Regions from separate parts of the Homo sapiens genome. Here all the other regions are linked to region 1. The links are contacts of gene promoters, found by promoter capture Hi-C in blood cells and fetal thymus (Javierre and others, 2016). All regions are on one chromosome and are shown on one strand. The core of a region is centred on a gene start or on the middle of the fragment in contact, and the rest is flanking DNA. Distances in the headings are between cores, read along the strand shown. Region 1 holds the start of CRISP3 (cysteine rich secretory protein 3). Region 2 overlaps CRISP1 (cysteine rich secretory protein 1). Region 3 has its middle 39 kb from the start of CRISP1.

The links. Contacts are between HindIII fragments. The CHiCAGO score rates a contact against its expected background, and 5 or more counts as called.
Region 2: a contact is called between a fragment that was not itself captured here and the fragment with the promoter of CRISP3 in region 1, in 1 of 17 cell types (erythroblasts). The highest score is 11.1, in erythroblasts.
Region 3: a fragment that was not itself captured here is called in contact with the fragment with the promoter of CRISP3 in region 1 in 1 of 17 cell types (erythroblasts); the score reaches 10.3 in erythroblasts.

What each region holds. Positions count from the first base shown.
Region 1 is chr6:49,742,707-49,746,609 of GRCh38, reverse strand. It overlaps CRISP3 (cysteine rich secretory protein 3), which reads left to right and starts at 2,222. Exons shown (of 8, transcript NM_006061.4): 1 at 2,222-2,279. The coding sequence starts at 2,243. The HindIII fragment of the contact is 5,260 bases long and covers 919-3,903 here.
Region 2 is chr6:49,844,420-49,848,322 of GRCh38, reverse strand. It overlaps CRISP1 (cysteine rich secretory protein 1), which reads left to right. Exons shown (of 8, transcript NM_001131.3): 4 at 24-114; 5 at 1,655-1,803. Among named protein-coding and RNA genes, the nearest start is that of CRISP1, 20 kb to the left of the region's middle. The HindIII fragment of the contact is 2,184 bases long and covers 790-2,973 here.
Region 3 is chr6:49,825,251-49,829,153 of GRCh38, reverse strand. No RefSeq gene overlaps it. Among named protein-coding and RNA genes, the nearest start is that of CRISP1, 39 kb to the left of the region's middle. The HindIII fragment of the contact is 2,934 bases long and covers 705-3,638 here.

The DNA.
Region 1 (3,903 bases), core at 973-3,472:
GCCATTTTGGACACTTAAGGTCAGATTGAAGTCAGTCTGTCAGTCCAACGTGTGTATGGTATTTTGTGACCCAAAAAGACCACATATACTTATTTAGCTTAATAATAAATGTACCAATATTTGACAAGCAAAATGCCTTCTACATCATGGTGCATCTAGTGGTCATTTAGTCATAACTCAGTAAAAAGTTAGAGAAAAACTATCAAGTTTGAATAATGAGGCAAAAATATTTTTCCTTTTTATACTGTTTTGTGTCTACTTATGGTAATTTCTCACAGAACTGCCTATAGCTTAGTAAGTCAAACCATGTCCTAAAACTCAAGTGCAATCCCACAGCTTACAAATATTAGGGGTAGGTTTGTCTAGATACAGAAGAAAAGTGCATAAAGTGGGAGAGAATTAACACTGGAAATACTTACTACATGGCAGGCAGCTTACATATATTATGTATCACAATTAAATACAATTAATATTATTCCCATTTATGATAAATATGAAAATTTACAATCAGAATAATAATTTCCTAATAAAGTAGGTGCTGTGGCTCATGCCTGTAAGTCCAGAACTTTGGGAGGCCAAGACAGGAGGATTGCTTGAAGCCAGAAATTCGACACTAGCTGGGCAACATAGCAAGACTCTGTCTCTACAAAAAAATTTAAAAAATTAGCTGTGTATAGTAGTGCACACCATGGTCTCAGCTCCTTGGGAAGCTGAAATAGGAGATCCCTTGAGCCCAGAAATTCAAGGCTACAATGAGTTCTGATCTAACCACTGCACTCCAGTTTGGATGATAGAGTGAGATCCTGCTTCAAATAAAATAAAATATGATATAAAATAAAATAATAAAATATAAAAATTTCCCAATACACATTGGTATAGAAATTTAGCCCATTTCCATTAAAACAGAAATATCAAGCTTTTAACAACATTCTACACCACTAAGTAGAGAAGAGAATGGGCTGTGGATGCTTCTGGGTCTGGTCCTTCCCCACAAAATACATTTTGCCACAGAAAGAGGATTGTGTAGAAGGTTGTTCCATGGTGATTTTTTCCACATAGCTGATTTGGTTTATTGAGAGCTTCCACTTCACATGTTCATAAAGTAAACAGATTCTAGGAGTTACTTGGAGACATGGCAGCAAATGGTTAACCATTTTTTAATGGTAAAATCTGACCTGAGTTTCTGAGTTCTCAACTCTCTTATAACAGACATTTAGAAGTATCCAATTCTTGAACTCAAAATTAACTATAATTTTAAAATGTGCCTATTGTGTAGACATTGATCTGTGATTATACATTTTGTCACATTGATCAATAAAGCTAAATATAAAAATGAAAATGAACAGAAACTATTGAATTATGCACCACAAGGTGCAATCTATATGCCAATATGAGCATGCAGAAATGTCTGCGTGCTATGTATATGCTACTTGTGATTTATTAATTTATACTTCTTTATTTATATAAACTCAATATTTAAGATTATTGTATTTTAGAATCAGAGGAAATCTGAAATTGTTAGTCCACCCCACTTCATTATTGTGCTATGGAAACAAGCCTGGAATGATTGACATCTTCCATAGATGAACAGAACCAAATAATGATAATTTAGCTTGGAGATCAATATTATCTTTAATTTTATACAACCAGAAAATACAAGTAAATACAGCACATCTTTGAATATAGAAATACCAATGAGTTATGGTGTGTTTGGCCATTGAGTTCTGAAAGTCACTGTGGCCTTGTATTTACAAACATTAAAGATAAAATTATTATCCAAAACAGTAATGTCCAATAGATTATTAATAAACATTTTAGATAGCTGTAAAAAACATTGTGTTCTCTAGAGTTCATAAAAATTATGAGCTTAATTTCAATCCAACAGAAATAATTCTGAAAACTCTAATGTTGTGATGCTAATAATTGGGCTAAGAATTTTCAAACTATTGACTGGCAAAAACATGGATAAATTGTAATATATGAACTTCAAAGAATAAATGCACAATTACAAAACTTGATATAGCAATTTATTTTTAAAAGCCATTTGAGGAATCACCAAATAATTTCAAAATCATGACTAGAAAACCAGCAATGAAATTTGAGACTACTGGTATGACAAATCCTGTTTCAGGCCTTGTTGATCTAGAGTTACTTGCACAACCAGAATTTGCCAAAACAGGAAATAGGTGTTTCATATATACGGCTCTAACCTTCTCTCTCTGCACCTTCCTTCTGTCAATAGATGAAACAAATACTTCATCCTGCTCTGGAAACCACTGGTAAGTGATAACTCCTTTATTTCAAGGTGAACATTATTTATTTCAAGGTGAACAACACATTTATACCTTATCAATGATAAAGTGATATATTCGTATATTTTATCTACAATTTTCCAAAGTTTATTGATAACTTTTAATGAGAGTAATTATCTTAATATATTCATTTTAAGCTGAGAAGCTAATACATAGACAGCTTTATTATTCCAAAAGCACTTTTATCCAGTTTGAAATTTAAATAAATTTTTACCTTTCATTCTAAAGTAATATAACTAATTCCCATGTCTATGACTTGTGGAAACAATTGTACTAGAACTATTTTTAATAGAAAAATGAAAAACTATGAATATATGTGTGTGCATACTTTCACATCAGTAACTTTTACTAATATTAAAACATACAGCTATATGGGATGCCATAGCAAAAGTTTTAAATTGGTCAAAACAAAATTATAGCACTGATCTCAAGATTAAAAAGTATTTTATTAAAGACCATCAACATAAAATGCAATTTACCTCATGAAATGCACTCAGATCAAAAACAAAAAAAAAAGGCTTTTAGAAGTTTTTCAGTCAAAAGTCAGTCTACTCAGTCATGTTTATGTAGGTAATTTAAATATAATATCTATCGTGCATATTTCATCTAAGGAAGCAATTTCCACATACGGCTTTATCTTCCGTAGCATATTAGAAGTGATTCTGAAGAGTCAGATAGTAGGAGACCACAGAACTACCTAATGACAACATGAAAGGGGTTATTTACCACTAGACAGAAGATTTTAAAGTAAAATGCTTTTCTTCCCTGTGGCTAAATGCTATCCAGGAAACTCTGGGAGTATTTGCAATAGCCATAGAAGATCCGGTGTTGCCTCTTCTGCTAGTTAAAACCAAATCTAGAATGTCTGCCTGTATGACTAAGACCTCTGAAAGTGGATCAAAAGAAATTAAATTGATGACAAGTTTCAAGCCTGGGAGTTACCCTACATTGATAAGTTATGAGGTAAATTGGGGCTTCTGATTTGTAACAGGCAGGGATGAATTGGGAGGAAGAGTGTCAGAATTCTCAAGTAATGTAAATCTGATAATTGCTATGAATTTCAGTTACGTTATTTATTGAATTCAAGTAAAAGGGAGGGAATTCATCCTTGAAAAAAAAGTGCTTCTCAAGAAATGCAAGACAGCTATTCTTATTTGGATATCTTTACGAATTTCTTACTTGATGAAGTCTAGCAGTTTTGCAAACTTTGCATATTGGCATAGGCTGCTTTCTGTATCACAGATACATAATAAGATGAAAGAAAGTGATCAGAATAAAGATTAACTATTAAATTTTAAGTAAGAAAATATTGCATCAAATACTTTTCTGTGCTGTGACTAGTTTATAAATGTGTCTATACCTATAGTGCACACATTATACTCACATGTGTTAATGCTTTTGACATCTTTTCTAATCCACGTAATCCTTTAAAATATTTCTATAGTCTGTTCTTCCTCCTTTGCTTTTTAATGTTACGATGTTTGGTCTGTCTCTTAAGTTTTGTATTTTCCTCCACCAGTTGATTTATCTGTTCCTACAATAATATTAAATTTTTGTCAACAAATGTTTGAAGTCTATCTTAATAACTAAT
Region 2 (3,903 bases), core at 632-3,131, 100 kb before region 1:
CTTTTTTTTTCTTTCCACTACAGAGTTGGAGTGAAGAGGCTGCACAAAATGCCAGAATTTTTTCAAAGTATTGTGATATGACAGAGAGCAACCCCCTTGAGAGGAGACTTCCAAGTAAGTGTGTATCTATATGACCCGCCTTTGGACTAAAAAAAAAAAAAATAGTAAAACAGGGATTGTTATGTACCCTGATGAAAGTAAATTAAGTCATCTAGATTTCCTCATTTGCACTGGGTCATACAAGGCAGTGAATTGTGGACTATTACACTGTTTTAACTCATTAATTTTTAAGGTTTATATCTTTAAGTTTTCAGATTCCAAGTTCTGGAGTTTTCAGATTCCAAGTTCTGACCATCAGGAGAAATGAATAAAAAATCTCAGTATTGCAGAAGAGTGGAGTGAGCAGCTAGAAACCTAGGTCTCCATTCTGTGGAGTTACTATAGCTACTGAACAATAGCACCATGGGGATCTGCTTAGCTTTGGAACGATAATGCAGTTGAGAAATAAGTTATATGCAGCCCTGCTCAGCTGCCCATAAGACAATTTTAGGTGCTCAAAAATGAGCCCATCTTAAAGCATATAAATTAGGTAACTTACTGCTAGTTTCCAGGAAATAATAAAAAAAAACATTATTGCTTCTGTGTTACGCTGTTTTTGTGTTGCTGTAAAGAAATACCTGAGCCTTGGTAATTTATTAAGAAGAGATTTCATTAGCTTATGACTCTGCGGGCTGTACAGGAAGCATGGCACCCACATCTACTTGGCTTTTGGTGAGACCTTAGGAAGCTTACAATCATGGCAGAAGGTGAAGGGGGAGCAAGTGTCTCACATGGTGAGAGAGGGAGCAAGAGAGAGAGAGTTGGGGGGTGCCACATACTTTTAAACAACCAGATCTCATGAGAACTCACTCACCATTATGAAGACAGCACCAAGTTCTTTGAGGAATCCACTACCGTGAGGTAAACGTCTCCGGTCAGGCCCCACCTTCAACACGGGGATTACATCTCAACATGAGATTTGGAGGGGACATCCAAACTATATCACCTTCACTCAGGAATAAACATTATATTTTAACATGAGAATCTTTTTTTAATTAACATGTTTTAAAAATGCTGATTCACATTTATATCTACAGATTATTTGGAATCTTAGTCCAATGCTTTTTAGCAGTGAATTAGCAAAGTGGTTCCTGCCTGCCTTAAGAAAAGACAGATACTCCTGAATACCATGTTCAACCAAAAGCCCACACCATACATGAATGGCTAAATAAACAAATGTTTATTCAACATCTTTGTATTATGAACACCTGTGTGTAGCTTCCTTTAAGCCATAGACCCTGTTAGCACTCTTATGCTTCTCTGATTTGGTTTCACCTATCTAAAGCAGCTTGGAAGCAGCAGAGACTGAAATGTTGATGATTTGATTTCAAAACTTGTTCATCACCTACTATCAACGTTTCACCAAACTTGAGTACCACATGCTCATTCATCAATGAGAAAGATTTTCAGTGGGGATACAACTTATTTTACTCCCTCTCAGAAGATGTTGTCAAGATGATCAGTGAACCATTCATAAAATAAAAATGAGGAAAGTCTCCTTGTATACTATTTCCCATTTGTTCAGAGTATGACCCAGCCCGTTTTCTCATTTCAGATACCTTTTGTGGAGAAAATATGCATATGACATCTTATCCTGTATCATGGTCAAGTGTAATTGGAGTCTGGTACAGTGAGTCTACAAGTTTCAAACATGGAGAATGGACAACAACGGATGATGACATAACTACTGACCACTACACTCAGGTAACCTGTGTGCTGGCAAACACACACATTGTTTAAGAGATAAGCATGTGTGTGGAAACGTAACTAAGAAACAACTGAAAATCATTCTACCTTCTTATGGCAATCTTTACTCAATTTACTGAGTTCCTCTTATAATTTGAAATAGAAGGAAGTGTTCTGTTCAAAATACGACTTAGAGAAGATGCTTAACCTCTTAGTATCCTTCTTTACTCACTAGATTTTTCAGGAACTCACAAAATCATAAGACATCAATCTCATTTGATATTGGTAGTATTTGTAAAAGTGAAAATAATGGTACCTTACAATACAGAGAAACCCCTGATTTCTAACTTTAGTTTTATTGTGGTAAGATATACATTTAAAAAATTACCATTTTAACTATTTTAAATGGTTTCATGTTCAGCATTAATGTGGCATGAATGTTCAGTGGCAATAAGTCCACTCAAATCGTTGTGCAACGCCATCGCCAGAATATTTTCATTTTCCCAAACCGAAACTCTGTACTCATTAAACAATACCTTCCATTCCTCTCCCTACTTCCCCAGACCTCTGGCAACTACCACTCTACTTTCTGTCTCTGTGAATTTCACTACTCAAAGTACCTCATAAATTTGGAAACATACAATATTTGTCCTTTTGTGTCTGCTTTATTTCACTCAGCATGATATATTAAATCCATGTTCATCCATGTTGTAGCATGTGTCAGAATTGTATTCTTTTTTTTAAGGCTAAATGCTATTTCATTGCATGTGTATATCACCTTTTGCTTGTCTGTTCTGATGGGCATTTGAGTTGTTTCCATTTTTTTTTTTGGCTATTGTGAATAATACTGCTTTAAATATTGGTGTGAAAATATCTGTTTGAGTGCTTGCTTTCAATTGTTTTGGGCATATGCCAAGGAGAGGAATTACTGGATCATATGTGAATACTGTGTTTATTATTTGAAAAACTGGAGTACTATTATATTTTCTGTTGCAGCTGCACCATTTTACGTTCCCACCAGCAATTTACAAAATTTGCAATTTCTTCACATCTTTGCTCTATTAATCTGCTTAGGATGCCATAACAAAATACCACAGCTGGGTGGATTAAACAACAGAACTTTATTTTCCCACATTTTGTATCCTAGAAGTCTATGATCTTAATAGAGCATAGTTTCTAGTGAAAGCTTTCTGCCTGACACCTTCTCACAATGTCCTAACATGGCTTCTCCCCAGTGCAAAAGAGGAGCCAGAGAGAGTCAAGGATAGAGACAGAGACAAGAGAGACCATAAGAGCAAGCTGTCTAGCATCTGTTCATGTAAGGACACAAATCCTACTGGAACAGGGCCCAAGTCGTATGACTTTATTTAATCTTAATTATTTCCTTAGAAACTCTATTTTCAGATACAGCTACACTGGATGGAAGTTAGAGGTACAGAATACGAATTTTGGGGGAAGAATTCAGCTCATAACATTGTACCATTGCCCCTCCCCAACAAATTTATTTTTTCCTCACATGCAAAATAGATTCGTTCCATCCCAAGAGCCCTCAAATTCTTAATTTATTCCAGTATCAACTCTAAAGTCTAAGGCCCAAAGTCTTACCTAAATATTATCTAAATGCATGAGATTCAAGATGTGATTCATCCAGAGGTAAAATTTCTCGCCAGGAGTGAACCTATGAAACAAAAAATGTTATATGCTTCCATAGTACAACAGAAAGACAGGCATAGGATAGACATTCTCATTTCGAAAGAGAGAAATAGAAAAGGAAGCAGCAATGGGTCCCAGGCAAATCCAAAACCAGGCAAAAGAAATTTCATGTGATAGTAAGGCTTGAGAATAATTCTCTTTGGTTTGATGCTCTGCACTCTTGGCCAACTTGGAGGCAGCATCACCCATGGCTCTGTGGGCAGCCTTTTCCCTTTAGCTCAGTGAGGCAGCCTCTTCCCTTTAGCTCAGTGAGGCAGCCTCATCAAATGACTCTCAGAAGAGGCCCTGCTAACATGGCTGTTTTCAGAGATCATCTGCAGGGACAACACTGTTTGAAGCTAAGCAGGAAGCAGCCTTGCTCCCTGGACCTGTAGTGGGCATGGGAGCCCTCATGATCTCTGAAAC
Region 3 (3,903 bases), core at 922-3,421, 83 kb before region 1:
TATCACTTCAACTACATATAGCCTTTTGTGGTGGGATTTATTATTACAATTTTACATATTTAGACACTAAGACTCCGAAATTTTACATGACTTCTTCATGGTTAAATAGCTCGAAAGTAACAGAGAGATCCTACACAAAGAATAGCTCCTTCCAAAATTTAGATGCCATAAAATAGTATATCACTATATAGAGCTATAACAGGAAGTTATTAGAAGATTAATGTGGAAAGTACACACATGAAATGTAGGTTTTTCAAAATGTTCTTTTCTTTCTCATCCATTCCAACCATTTTATGAACAGGATTTTTAAATACTTGTTAAACTAAGCATTGCATAGAGCTGTCAAATAATAAATAGAATGTTAGAACCATGATAGAGAATGAGCTTCTAAGTGCAACATGTTTCAATTTAGAGAACAGACCTGGTTTGGAGTCTTAGCCCTGATACCTCTTTGTGTCTGAAACTATGTGAGAGCTTCGATGGGGTTCTTATCGCATTTTAACCATTCCTTTGGACTGAGTCTAATACCATTCCCACTGCTCCATAATGCCTCGCAGAGGTATTCAGGAAGACTCAAGTATCATTGAAATTTCCCTTGCCCGATGTTCTCGTGATGACTATCACTGAAAATGTATCCACGTGCATATCTAAATATAATGTATTAAATGATGTTATCATAGCAGAATTCTCACTTTGGCCAAGCTTCAAATTCAATTTTTTACTGAACTATATCATGATCCATCTTGATACTCTCTCCACCATTTTCTCTCTTTGTGCTTTTTAAAATTATTAGTATATTTAGGCTCAAGTTGGCCTTATATTATTTATTTTCATTTGTTTCTCTGTTTGTTGTTCCTCTGTTTCTCTTTTCTTGCCTTCCTGTGAGTTATTTGCACATTTTTAATGTGTTTTAATTTTAATGTGTGTATCACTTTGTATAGTTTCTCCTAGTGGTTACTCTACATATATATGTGTGTGTGTGTGTACTATATATATACTTAAATTATCAGTCTACTTGTATTGATATTTTGTCACTTAGAGTGAAGGGTAGAAACCTCACTTTTATTTAGGTACCTTTCCCTCCCACTTTAACAATATATTTATACTAAGTACTAACTTTACATATACTAAACATCACCATGTGTGGTGTAACAATTTTCGCTTCAACCAACAAATATTTTAAGAAAATCATGAAGAGAAAAGTCTCTTGTATTTAACTCTCATTTTTATCCATTCTGATATTTTCTTTTCTGAATTTTTAAAACTTCTCTTATCATCTCTTTTAATTTTTATCTAGAGAACATCCTTTAGCCTTCCTTTAAGAGTAGGCTTACAAATAAATTATCTGACTGTTCTTTATGTGAGAATGCCTTTATTTTCCCTTTATTCCTGAAGTATACTTTCACCGGATATAGGATTCAGGATTAATCATTTTTTTAAGCATTTGTAAAGCACGCCACTCTCTTCTGAACTCTGTGGTTTCAGAAGAGAAATCTACTGTCACTAAAATTGTTATTCCTCCATAGTTATATATTGTTTCTCTCTATTAAATTTTTTCATTGGCTTTAATTTTTCAGAAGTTTGTAAGGTGTTATGGCCCCTGTGCTGAGTTCTACTGAAGCCATTCCAAGCATTTTGTGGACAGTCTTTTCATTGTCTGTCTGGAGTCAGACAGTTATGGCTAAAAATTTTTTTCTTTTTTATTATTTCACCCTTCTTAACCCTTTGGCTGAGTTGAGCAGGCTTCCCTTGTTCTGTTTCGGTTTGTTTGTTTTAATTTTTGTCTGATCCTGTTAGTGGTTCTGGGGTTGAGACTTCTGCAGTGCTCTGTCTAGTATATATGGGAAGCAAAAAGGAAACTCAGAGAAGTCATTTTCATGCTGATACTCAAGTCCAAGGTCCTTACACAGTCTGCTTTCTTAGTTTCACTTCTAGAGTCTTCCTATGCTTGTTTGTTATGTATGCTCAAGTTTTTCAGTTTTAAGAAGGAGGACCTGAGAGAATGTGGCTCCTCTATCTTGGCCATTACCCTACCACTAAGTGAACCTGCATTTTTTTGCTTGAATGAATTAAGATTTTGCTTAAGTTCGCCGTGTAGCAGGTCAATTATCTACAGATGCAAGAAAACAGAGGTTTCCTGACCTGCTATATATATCACAAGCAATTCTTCTAATTGGTGGGGCTTTAAAATCTGGGTAAAAAGTTCTTCACTGTGGTTCAGGGCTATGAAACATATTTGTAAGCTGACAAATCACTATGGCATATGGTATGTGTAAACCCTCTCGATAGAAAAAATTCTGTCAAGAAGTTGCTCTCAACTGAACAATAAAGAACTAAACGTTTGAGGCATCCTTTTATTAGTATTGTCTATTTCTATTTGTTATGAATCTTTGTTATTTTCTTTAAAACAATTATTACTCTGTCAAGCGCATTTGCAAACTACTTATATGGAATGTTATAGTTCAGCATCTATACTGTATAAAAATTGCAAATATACGAAGAAGAAGCACCTACAGTATGTGATCATTCGCGAGTCAAGCTCCTGCTTTTCAGTTGCCTTCAGAAAATTCTAAAATGCTGAAGGTAGCGTATTTATTGATGGTACCACTAATATAAATATGGACACAGTCTATTGGAAAAGATAACTTAAAAGATAAAACAATGCCACAAAGAAACAACAAAGGATTTCTCCAGTATAATCTGAACCATGGTAATATTTTCAACAAGCAATATCTAATAATATCTGTTTAATGCACAAACCATTTTGTTTTGAACAAATACAAGTAATTTGAGCTTTTTTTAAATATGGTCATAAGTTACCCATTTGCTATTAATTGTATATTAATATTCATCTTTCAGGTTTTCACCTCCTTTAGTAGTCTTCATCTGTTTGTTAAAAATGTCTTAACTTTTCTTCCATAAACCCCTTTACATGAGCATGTACTCGTAGAAACTCCTGGACCTGCAGTTTTCTTTGCTCCTGAATTCTTTCCTACAACATATTTCATATATTATAATATTTTTAAAAATAATTTAGGTTAGCTGAGGATCTATTTTTCTACTTTTCCCCTTACAGTAAGATAATTTATCAAATATTATTTACCCTATAAACTATTTTCTCTTTTCATTTATTTATTTATTTGATTTTTATGTTTTGTGTATATATAGTAGGTGTCTATATTTATGGGGTACATAAGATGTTTTGATACAGACATGCAATGTCAAATAAGCACATCATGGAGAATGGGGTATTCATCTCCTCAAGCATTTATCCTTTGAGTTACAAACAATCCAATTACACTCTTTTAAATTATCTTAAAATGTACAATTATTATTGACTATAGTCACTCTATTGTGCTATCAAACAGTAGGACTTATTCATTCTTTCTAGCTATTTTTGTACCCATTAACCACCCCTACCTGCTCCCCAACCCCCAACTACCCTACGCAGCCTCTGGTAACCATCCTTCTATTATCTATGTCCATTGGTTCAATTGCTATGATTTTTAGATCCCACAAATGTGAGAACATGTGATGTTTATCTTTCTGTGCCTGGATTATTTCACTTAACATAATAATCTCTAGTTCATAGAATAATCATTCTATGCCTTTTTCTCTGTGATTTCAATATTCAAGCTTCATATTTGTCTTAATATCTGATAGGGTGAGGGGCTTCTTTTATTATCTTTCTTAAATTTCCCTATTAAAAAGTTCTTATTTTCCCATTTAAAACTTACAATATGTTCATCTATCCACCCTCTAAAAATCCTATGGATTATGATTGTCTTTGTATTTATTTATAGATTGTTTGAGAAAAATTTGCTTCTTTCATTGCCAGACCATCTCACCCATGAACATGTATGTCAGTTATTTTTCCAGATTTTTTAAAAAATCTGTTTAATA